Regions from separate parts of the Homo sapiens genome. Here region 2 is linked to region 1. Evidence: promoter capture Hi-C in 16 types of primary human blood cells and fetal thymus (Javierre and others, 2016). All regions are on one chromosome and are shown on one strand. Each heading gives the region's core, a stretch centred on a gene start or on the middle of the fragment in contact. The rest is flanking DNA. Distances are from core to core; before and after follow the strand shown.

Region 1 (5,124 bases), core at 1,729-4,228:
CAGTTTCCTGCCTCCTCCCAGGCAGGGAACCCAGAACCTAGAGGGGTAAAAAGAGCTTTCTTTCAACAGGGAGCCTGGGAGAAATGAAACCAGACTTAGGCACAACAAAAGGGGGAAAATCAGACCGGCAAAGTAGATAAATTAGGGATAAACTTTTCACTATACGAAAGTATGCATCATGGAAGTCCTTCAAATAATTGCCCCAGTGGTACAGTTCTATCTGATTTTAAATATAAAAATGGATTTTCATAAAACATTTCATGAATATATTATTTGCCTAAGTAGAAGCCTACTAGTTTATATTCCTGTATTGGCAAAGAAAATTACTTTAGCTCAGCTGGGCGCGGTGGCTCACGCCTATAATCCCAGCACTTTGGGAGGCCAAGGTGGGTGGATCATGAGGTCAGGAGTTCAAGACCAGCCTGGCCAATATGGTGAAACTCCCTCTCTACCAAAAATACAAAAATTAGCTGGGCGTGGTGGCGCGCACCTGTAGTCGCAGCTACTTGGGAGGCTGAGGCAGGAGAATCACTTGAATCTGGGAGGCAGAGGTTGCAGTGAGCCGAGATCAGGCCACTGTACTCCAGCCTGGGCAACAGAGCAAGACTCAATCACACAAAAAAAAAGAAAGAAAAGAAAATTACTTTTAGCTCATAATAAGTATATATATATATATATATGTATATGTATATATATTTTTTTAAGAGATGGAGTCTCGCTCTGTGACCCAGGCTGGAGTGCAGTGGCGCAATCTTGGCTCACTGCAACCTCCGCCTCCCGGGTTCACGCCATTCTCCTGCCTCAGCATCCCGAGTAGCTGGGACTACAGGCGCCCACCACCACACCCAGCTAATTTTTGTATTTTTAGTAGAGACGGGGTTTCACCGTGTTAGCCAGGATGGTCTCAATCTCCTGACCTCGTGATCCACCCACCTTGGCCTCCCAAAGTGCTGGGATTACAGGCATGAGCCACCGCGCCTGGCCATAATTAGTATTTTATGCACCATTTTAATCTCAACTCTTTCTATCTTTGCTCTATATTCATTTTTTTTTTTTCTTTTTGAGACAGAGTCTCTCTCTGTCACCAGGCTGGAGTGCAGTGGTGCGATCTCCACTCACTGCAACTTCCGCCTCCCGGGTTCAAGAGATTCTCCTGCCTCAGCCTCCCGAGTAGCTGGGACTACAGGCGCCCGACACCACACCCAGCTAATTTTTTTGTATTTTTAGTAGAGACAGGGTTTCACCATGTTGGTCAGGGTGGTCTCCATCTCTTGACCTCATGATCTGCCTGCCTCGGCCTCCCAAAGTGCTGGGATTACAGACGTGAGCCACCACGCCCAGCCTCTTTTCTCTATATTCTAACCACAAAAATAAGATTTAGTTTTCCCATCCATTTTCAAATAAATCAAAGTGTCCTCCTGAAACTCAGGCAATAAAAATCTGATATTTCTTCGTTCTTGGTGGGCAAAGGACAAGTTTAACATTTTCCAGACTTCGAAGAGCCAGATATATTCAGTATTATTATTATTACTACTAATAACTCTTGAATGTTAACATATGAATTAAGTTATTTCACAGAATACTTAAGATAAAATCTCTTTGGAGAATTTCCGATAGAGATTAAACTTATTAATATTCACATGTTATTTATAATAATCTATTGTCATTTTAATTGCTTTATGAAAGTAGTCATTTGCATTACAAAGATATTTTGTAGTTAAATGAAAGATAAATGCATCTCAAACCATATATAGAGCGAAAAGTCTTTATCAAGCAACCTATTTAACAAAAAGAGTGAAACAAACACATTCCATCCCTCTATTTTATCATCTTGTTCAGATACTTGAAAATCTGTAAATGTCTTTAGAGAGAGTTGCTGTTTGATAGACTGCAATACATAGATATTACACACAAGCACACTAAAGATCAAGTCCTGCATTAATCAATGATTTTATAACAAACAATAAAAATTCCTCTGTGACCTCATACCAAAAAAAAAACCCAATCCCAAACCAATGAACCATATAAATCAACAAATAAATCTAAATGATATCCTGGAGCAAAAACAGGCATAAATGTTTCTTGGAGTTTTTTATAATGAAATTATACCCATATTACATGGTGAATGAGGTGGTCCCTTGACCTAAAAGTCCCAGCCATGTGAGCACAGGGGTCAGACAAAAAAGATCAAGAGAAACAATGTATTCAGTCAGGGGGATTTGGCAACATCCATTCTATCTATCTCAGTCATTCAGAAAATAATTACGGTATTTATCACTTTTAGCATGCTAGACGGGATGATTATTAAGAGAGAAAAACAGAAATTAGACAATGCAACATAATGTACGTGCTCAGAAAAGTATAAGCATTGTCCTCAGGGATCCGGAAAGCCTTCTTGAAGGTGAAGACACTCAAACTGAATCCTGAAGGAAAAGTGGGCACTACCTATGTGAAGGGAGCAGAAAAGATAGTGTGTGCGTAAGTCCCAAGTTAGAGCACACTACTGTGAGAAGCTTGAAGAGTGTCATGCCTCCCAACAATAAGAAGGAATTACAAGTGGTACAATAGCGATATAAATAAGGGCCAGATGAGGAATATTTTTGCATGATATGTTAAGGAGATGAGATTTTAGCTGAGGAAAAAGGGGACAATGATAGTAGGTGAAGAAAAAGTAGATGTGGTCATTATAGGGTGTTTGTTCCACACTGCTCTGCATCAACTTTAGCCCCTCCTTGGCGAACTCACTTTTTGGTTGGAATTTTCGGTACTTCTCTATCACTCTCATGTGTCCCTCTTCCTTCATCTGGCAAATCCTGGCTTTCAGTATCTCTCAATGGACAAGAGTTTCCTCCCATCTAGGAAACTAACCAGCCTCTGGAGGACTTCTCCTTTTAAGTAAACCTAAATAACTAATGGTGACACCACCTCCTCTTTTAAAAAACAATTTGACTCTATCTTGTTTATCTCATAATTCCTAGGCATCAATCATCCGACAAAAGCATTCACTTACAACATCATTGTGCTGTGTTTCTCTTGTCAAACGTCACCATTCATCTTAGCAGACTACAAAAAGACATGGGAAAGACCAAAAACACATCGCTGGATGCCGTGGTGACAGATTTCATTCTTCTGGGTTTGTCTCACCCCCCAAATCTAAGAAGCCTCCTCTTCCTGGTCTTCTTCATCATTTACATCCTCACTCAGCTGGGGAACCTGCTCATTCTGCTCACCATGTGGGCTGACCCGAAGCTCTGTGCTCGCCCCATGTACATTCTTCTGGGAGTGCTCTCATTCCTGGACATGTGGCTCTCCTCAGTCACCGTTCCTCTGCTTATTTTGGATTTTACTCCTTCCATCAAGGCTATCCCGTTTGGTGGCTGTGTGGCTCAACTGTATTTCTTTCACTTCCTGGGCAGCACCCAGTGCTTCCTCTACACCTTGATGGCCTATGACAGGTACCTGGCAATATGTCAGCCCCTGCGCTACCCAGTGCTCATGAATGGGAGGTTATGCACAGTCCTTGTGGCTGGAGCTTGGGTCGCCGGCTCCATGCATGGGTCTATCCAGGCCACCTTGACCTTCCGCCTGCCCTACTGTGGGCCCAATCAGGTGGATTACTTTATCTGTGACATCCCCGCAGTATTGAGACTGGCCTGTGCTGACACAACTGTCAATGAGCTTGTGACCTTTGTGGACGTCGGGGTAGTGGCCGCCAGTTGCTTCATGTTAATTCTGCTCTCGTATGCCAACATAGTAAATGCCATCCTGAAGATACGCACCACTGATGGGAGGCGCCGGGCCTTCTCCACCTGTGGCTCCCACCTAATCGTGGTCACAGTCTACTATGTCCCCTGTATTTTCATCTACCTTAGGGCTGGCTCCAAAGACCCCCTGGATGGGGCAGCGGCTGTGTTTTACACTGTTGTCACTCCATTACTGAACCCCCTCATCTATACACTGAGGAACCAGGAAGTGAAGTCTGCCCTGAAGAGGATAACAGCAGGTTGAAGGACTGAATGAAAATAAGTAACTACATCTGCATCATTATCACTGCCACTCTCTTCAGCTACTGCTGCATGTGACAAATGCCCAATAAACTGCTAAGGATTTAAAGTGAATTTATTTTCATTTTCTTTGGCAGAAAATTCTGAATTATTTCGACCCAAAATCTTTTCCCCTAATTAAACTGGTTCAGGTTGTTTTACATAATCTTTTAGAAATAAATGGATACATTATTTCTATCACCTCTATCTTGTGAGATGAGAAAATGCCTTACCAAAGGTTGAATAAGATGAGAATGTGTCAATGTCTTAGAAAGTATATCATGCCAGAAAATTTGAAAAGAGTAAAAAGGGGGCTCCATAACCCCTTGTTTCATTGTCTTTGCTCCTAATCCTAGACCCCTCTAAATTCCATTTCTTTGCTTGTGCATGGCATGAATATTTCCAAGCACTTGAACTTGAAAATTCTGGATTATTTGTGTTTTCTTCCTGTCCCTCGCCCTCGTGATGTGCTAACACATCAGATTCTGTCTCCTCAAAACTATGAAACCAGCTCAAACTGATTCAGTGTAGACTGTCTCTCTTAATTCTTGACTAGTTCTTCCTCATCTAGACCACAATCAAAATTACCCTCTGAAACACAGAATCTGTAGGACTCTTCGGCGAAGGTAGAATGAATAAGGCCAGGCTCCTTAATCTGGAATTCAAAATCCAATGCAATCTTGGCTTCACATACATGTTCTCTTAAGCCATTTCCTCTGCTTCCCTCTCCCACCCTCACTGATTTATTGCCGTTCCGTGAGCATGCTCTATACTTGCCTGTACTCTTTTGCTCAAGCTCTCTTCTCTGCCTGGAATATAAGTCCTCCCTCTCCATATTGACCAAGTGACAATTTATGCTTCCTTCAGATCCATATTAAATACTTCCTCATCTGTTTTTCCCAGGCAGGACTTAACTCCTCTTCCCTGGTATTGCCATGGCTTCTTTAGTATAGACCTTGCCCCAGTCTGTCACGTATTACAGTCAAGAATTTATCTCCTACCGGGCGCAGTGGCTCACGCCTGTAATCCCAGCACTTTGAGAGGCCGAGGTGGGCAGATCACGAAGTCAGGAGTTCAAGAC
Region 2 (5,124 bases), core at 1,339-3,838, 990 kb before region 1:
TGCCTCCAAAAATGTGGAAACAATTTCCTCTCCCACCAACATTGTATAAAAAATCCAACTTCTTCACTTTTTGCCATTACTAGCTATTGTCAATCTTTAAAATTTTTGTCAACCTGCATGTAAAAAATAGTATCTTATTGTTATGTATTTCTTCTATTGCTAGTGAGGTTGAGTATCTTCTCATATGTTCATTGGTGTTTTTTTTTTTTTTTTGAGACAGAGTTTTGCTCTTGTCACCCAGGCTGGAGTACAATGGCAGGATCTCGGCTCACTGCAACCTCTGCCTCCCTGGTTCTAGCAATTATTCTGCCTTAGCCACCCGAGTAGCTGGGATTACAGGTATGAACCACCATGCTCGGCTAATTTTTGTATTTTTAGTAGAGACAGGGTTTCTCCATGTTGGCCAGGCTGGTCATGAACTCCTGACCTCAGGTGATCCACCCCTTGGCCTCTCAAAGTGCTGGGATTACAGGCATGAGCCAACACATCTGGCCTCTTTTTTTTTTTTTTTTTTTTGAGATGGAGTTTTGCTGTTGTCATCCAGGCTGGAATGCAATGGCATGATCTCGGCTCACTGCAACCTCTGCATCCCGGGTTCAAGCGATTCTTCTACCTCAGTTTCCCAAGTAGCTGGGATTACAGGAACCTGCTACCACACCCGGCTAATTTTTGTATTTTTAGTAGAGACGAGGTTTCACCATGTTGGCCAGGCTGGTCTCGAACTCCTGACCTCAGGTGATCCACCCACCTTGGCCTCCCAAAGTGCTGGGATTACAGGCATGAGCCACTGGTTCCGGCTTCATTGGTCATTTGTACACTTTATCAGAGCCAAAAGGCCGAGAAGCGATCATTCATTGGTCATTTGCATATCTTCTTCTGTAAATTACTTATTCATATTTCTTGCCATGTACACAAAAATAAAACATTTATTTTTCTCTGGGTTGCTTTTCTTTTTCTGATCACTTGTTATAAACTATTCTCATTGCTTATCAAAAAGCTTTATTTTGCCGGGCGTGGTGGCTCATGCCTGTAATCCCAGCACTTTGGGAGGCCGAGGAGGGTGGATTGCCTGAGGTCAGGAGTTCGAGACCAGCGCCAACATGGCAAAACCCTGTCTCTACTAAAAATACAAAAAGATTAGCCATGCAGGGTCATGTGTGCCTGTAATCCCAGCTACTCAAGAGGCTGAGGCAAGATAATTGCGTGAACCTAGGAGGTGGAGATTGCACTGAGCCGAGAGCGCGCCACTGCACTCCAGCCTGGGTGACAGAGTGAGGCTCTGTCTCAAAATAAAAAAAAAAAGCTTCATTTTGCAAACCCTTCAATCCTGCAATCTTACCTCAAGGAAGGAAATAATTGGTCAAATATGCAAATATGTACGTACAAGGGACTTAGCGCACATTGTTTATAACATACAAATATTTGGAAGCAATTTAAAGTCCAAGAACAGAGAAGCAGGTAAATGAACTATAGTAAATCCAGACAGTGGAAGAAGATGCAACAGTTAAAAATGATGATATATTTCTATGGATTCTATATTTATTGGTATAGAAAGAGATTTATAACAATAAGGTTAAAAATTTTTATAAAGCACTTTGTTAGTATGCTCTCATTCTAGTAAATATACATTTATGTATATAATAACATATATATCATCTGAAAGAATATATTCCAATGTATTTAACATGGTTATTTGTGGGTAGTATAATTATAGATTTTTTAAAAAGTGTTTTTAATTTTGTCTTATTTTTGTACAATTAAAAATTTTTGTTTACATTTAAAAAAAGGAAAAATGTTCTCAGAATTGAACCCAACACTCAAATCAGGTTACAGTGAAACCATTGAGTCCCCCAATCAATGCAGGGAATGAGACCTAGCTTTCCATTAGCTTTTGGGGCAGCTTCATTCCTTTACTGCCATAAACAGAGCTTCTAGCCCACTAAAACCTTCACATCGGTTTAATCTTTTCACATCAACTGCCATTGCTTTACTAGTTTGGTTCATTTTTTTCTATCTTTTTTTTTTTTTTTTTTGGAGACATGGTCTGACTGTGTTGCCCAGGCTGTGGTGCAGTGGCACTCCATAGCTTCATAGCTCACTGCAGCCTTGAACTTCTGGGCTCAAGCAATCCTTCTGCCTCAGCCTCCCGAGTAGCTAGGACTACAGTCACATGCCACCATGCCCAGCTAATTAAATTTTTTATTTTTATTTTTACTTTTAGCTATGGAGTCTTGCCATATTGCCCAGGCTGGTCTTGAACTCCTGGGCTCAAGCGATCCTCCTGCCTCAGTCCCCTAAAGTGCTGGGATTACAGGCGTGAGCCACCACACTCGGCCGAGGTTCATTTTTCTCATGTGAAAGACTTGACATTCATCTCTGCCCACACTTTGATCATATCAGAAAACAACCTGTGCAGCCGCTTTCTGATTGCTGAAGCCGCTTCATTCTTCCTCAGCAGGACCCTTTGAGATACAATTGAAACTTCATGTTTGAGAATGCCCTGTCCCTTTTAAGCACTATAGATAATTTTCCTTGGAACATTCTGAAATCTGACTTCCTGAAATCTATAAAAATTACATCTGACAATCTTTTTTCAATATTCTAGTAAACGCAATTGTGAGTAGAGCAAGAATTTACTAGGTGCTCTGCTTCTGGCAGAAAGAGACTCATGTTAGTGTCCTGATTCTTGGAGACCTCTGGCACTACTGTAACTTGCTTTTGATGTTTGGCAGTCTGAACTAAGAAAGCAGCATCTGTGTCCTCCAATTATCTTAGTATCTATTTCTGTTTGTTTCTCCTTTTATCCCCATCCAAACATTTCCACCTTCAGTTCTGTGGTTTCCTTTTTGGCATACATGCTATTGTTGAGTCCCTTCAATTAGATTCACTTCCTCTGAACAGCGTTATCTTTCCACGGTCCCCTCCAGTCATGGGATCCACATGATTGACTTATCTATCTTCTTGTCATAAAATTCAAGTTCCTCTCCCACTCTGGTCTTCTGTAATATAGCCAGCACTCCCCAGACTTTAGGATTTTAATAATATTAATTACAAATACAGGAAAAAATTCTAAAATTGATATGTTTGGAAACAAAAAATGACATTCCCTCTCACCCCCAAACAATCGTAGAATATCAGCATCTTTTTATAAAATAACAATAGTTTAATCCTGAAAGGGTTAGAAAGGATATAATTTCAGAATTTAAAAATACTAAAAAAAAAAAGGCACTATTTTGTTATGAACCAGAAATACTTTATCATGGACCAGCTCCAGTCTGTGGATCTATGTAGGAAGCCACTGCTATAATATATGGTTTTGCAGTTACATTTGGACACTTTCCTTGAACATTTTAGAAAGTACATGATGCCCAGTTTTTGTGTTAGTTACCTCATAATTTATCAGAGGCCCATAAATCTATCATAAGTTGTGAGCCCTCTCAAAAATTCTTTTCCCAGACACAACACATGGTGTCAGCTGGTCAAACTGAGAAGATGAAAATATCACCTCTAACGCCATATCCTTCAGGATCCTTTTCAGCCACTAGCATGTCTCAGGATTCTTCTGGTTGTGTGTGATTTGTTCTCATATTGTTATAGTTTGGATATCTGACTCTTCAAATCTCATGTTGAAATTTGATCCCCAATGTTGAGATGGGGCCTAATGGGAGGTGTCTGGGTCATGGGGCAGATTCCTCATGAATGGCTTGGTGCTGTCTGTGTGGTTATGAGTGAGTTCTTGTTCTAGCAGTGCCTGGGAGAGATTGTTAAAACAAGCCTGGCACCTCACTTGTTTCTCTCTGGCCTGCGCTGCCTTGTCATGTGATCTCTGCACACTCCAGCTCCCCTTACCCTTCCAGCATGAGTGGAAGCTTCCTGAGGCCCTCACCAGAAGCAGATGCTGATGCCATGCTTCTTGTACAGCCTGCAGAACTGACAGGTTTTCTTTTCTTTATAAATTACCTGGCCTCAGGTATTCCTTTATAGCAGAAGAAACAGACTAAGACACATATATACCAACTAAAATATGTGGTTGCTGAATTATCACAAACTCTCCATTAGGCCTCAGAATATTCCAGGAAGAAGGAGCATCAGCCATCAGTAAGGTGAAGTCTACAGATCTCCTAGGCCTTTAGCAGAGTCACCAACCAAGATAATGGGGTCCTTGTGGGTTGGGGAACAGACTCTGTGCACCTGCTGACATCTGTTAATCCTCCTTAGTATTCTCTCCAGGAATGAGGAAGGTCTTTCCTCCTTAACCCTAGTGAAGAGTGATATTTAGCAGGATGATGACAAAGATCTGTCTAGCATAACAATGCTGAACTTATACTATGAAAAACACTTGGGGTGGAGCCAAGATGGCCGAATATGAACAGCTCCAGTCTACAGCTCCCAGCGTGAGAGACGCAGAAGACGGGTGATTTCCGCATTTCCAACTGAGGTACCAGGTTCATCTCACTGGGGAGTGTTGGATAGTGGGTGCAGGAGAGTGGGTGCAGCGTACCGAGCGTGAGCCGAAGCAGGGCAAGCCATCGCTTCACTTGGGAAGTGCAAGGGGTCAGGGAATTCCCTTTCCTAGTCAAAGAAAGAGGTGACAGACGGCACCTGGAAAATTGGGTCACTCCCACCCTAAAACTGTGCTTTTCCAATGGTCTTAGCAAACTGCACCCCAGGAGATTATATCCCGTGCCTGGCTTGGAGGGTCCTATGCCCACGGAGCCTCACTCATTGCTAGCACAGCAGTCTGAGATCAAACTGCAAGGTGGCAGTGAGGCTGGGGAAGGGGCGCCCGCCATTGCCAAGGCTTGAGTAGGTAAACAAAGTGGCCGGGAAGCTCGATCTGGGTGGAGCCCACCGCAGCTCAAGGAGGCCTGCCTGCCTCTGTAGACTCCACCTCTGAGGGCAAGGCATAGCCAAACAAAAGGCAGCAGAAATCTCTGCAGACTTAAATGTCCCTGTCTGACAGCTTTGAAGAGAGTAGTGGTTCTCCCAGCACGCAGCTAGAGATCTGAGAACAGACAGACTGCCTCTTCAAGTGGGTCCCTGACCCCTGAGTAGCCTAACTGGGAGGCACCCCCCAGTAGGGGCAGACTGACACCTCACACGGCCGGTTAATCCTCTGAGACA

Evidence for each region. Contacts are between HindIII fragments. The CHiCAGO score rates a contact against its expected background, and 5 or more counts as called.
Region 2: a fragment that was not itself captured here is called in contact with the fragment with the promoter of OR10G2 in region 1 in 1 of 17 cell types (activated CD4 T cells); the score reaches 6.0 in activated CD4 T cells.

What each region holds. Positions count from the first base shown.
Region 1 is chr14:21,632,794-21,637,917 of GRCh38, reverse strand. It overlaps OR10G2 (olfactory receptor family 10 subfamily G member 2), which reads left to right and starts at 2,978. Exons shown (of 1, transcript NM_001005466.2): 1 at 2,978-4,082. The coding sequence starts at 3,076. The coding sequence ends at 4,008. It also overlaps TRA. The HindIII fragment of the contact is 5,968 bases long and covers 2,516-5,124 here.
Region 2 is chr14:22,620,981-22,626,104 of GRCh38, reverse strand. No RefSeq gene overlaps it. Among named protein-coding and RNA genes, the nearest start is that of OR6J1, 21 kb to the left of the region's middle. The HindIII fragment of the contact is 2,566 bases long and covers 1,306-3,871 here.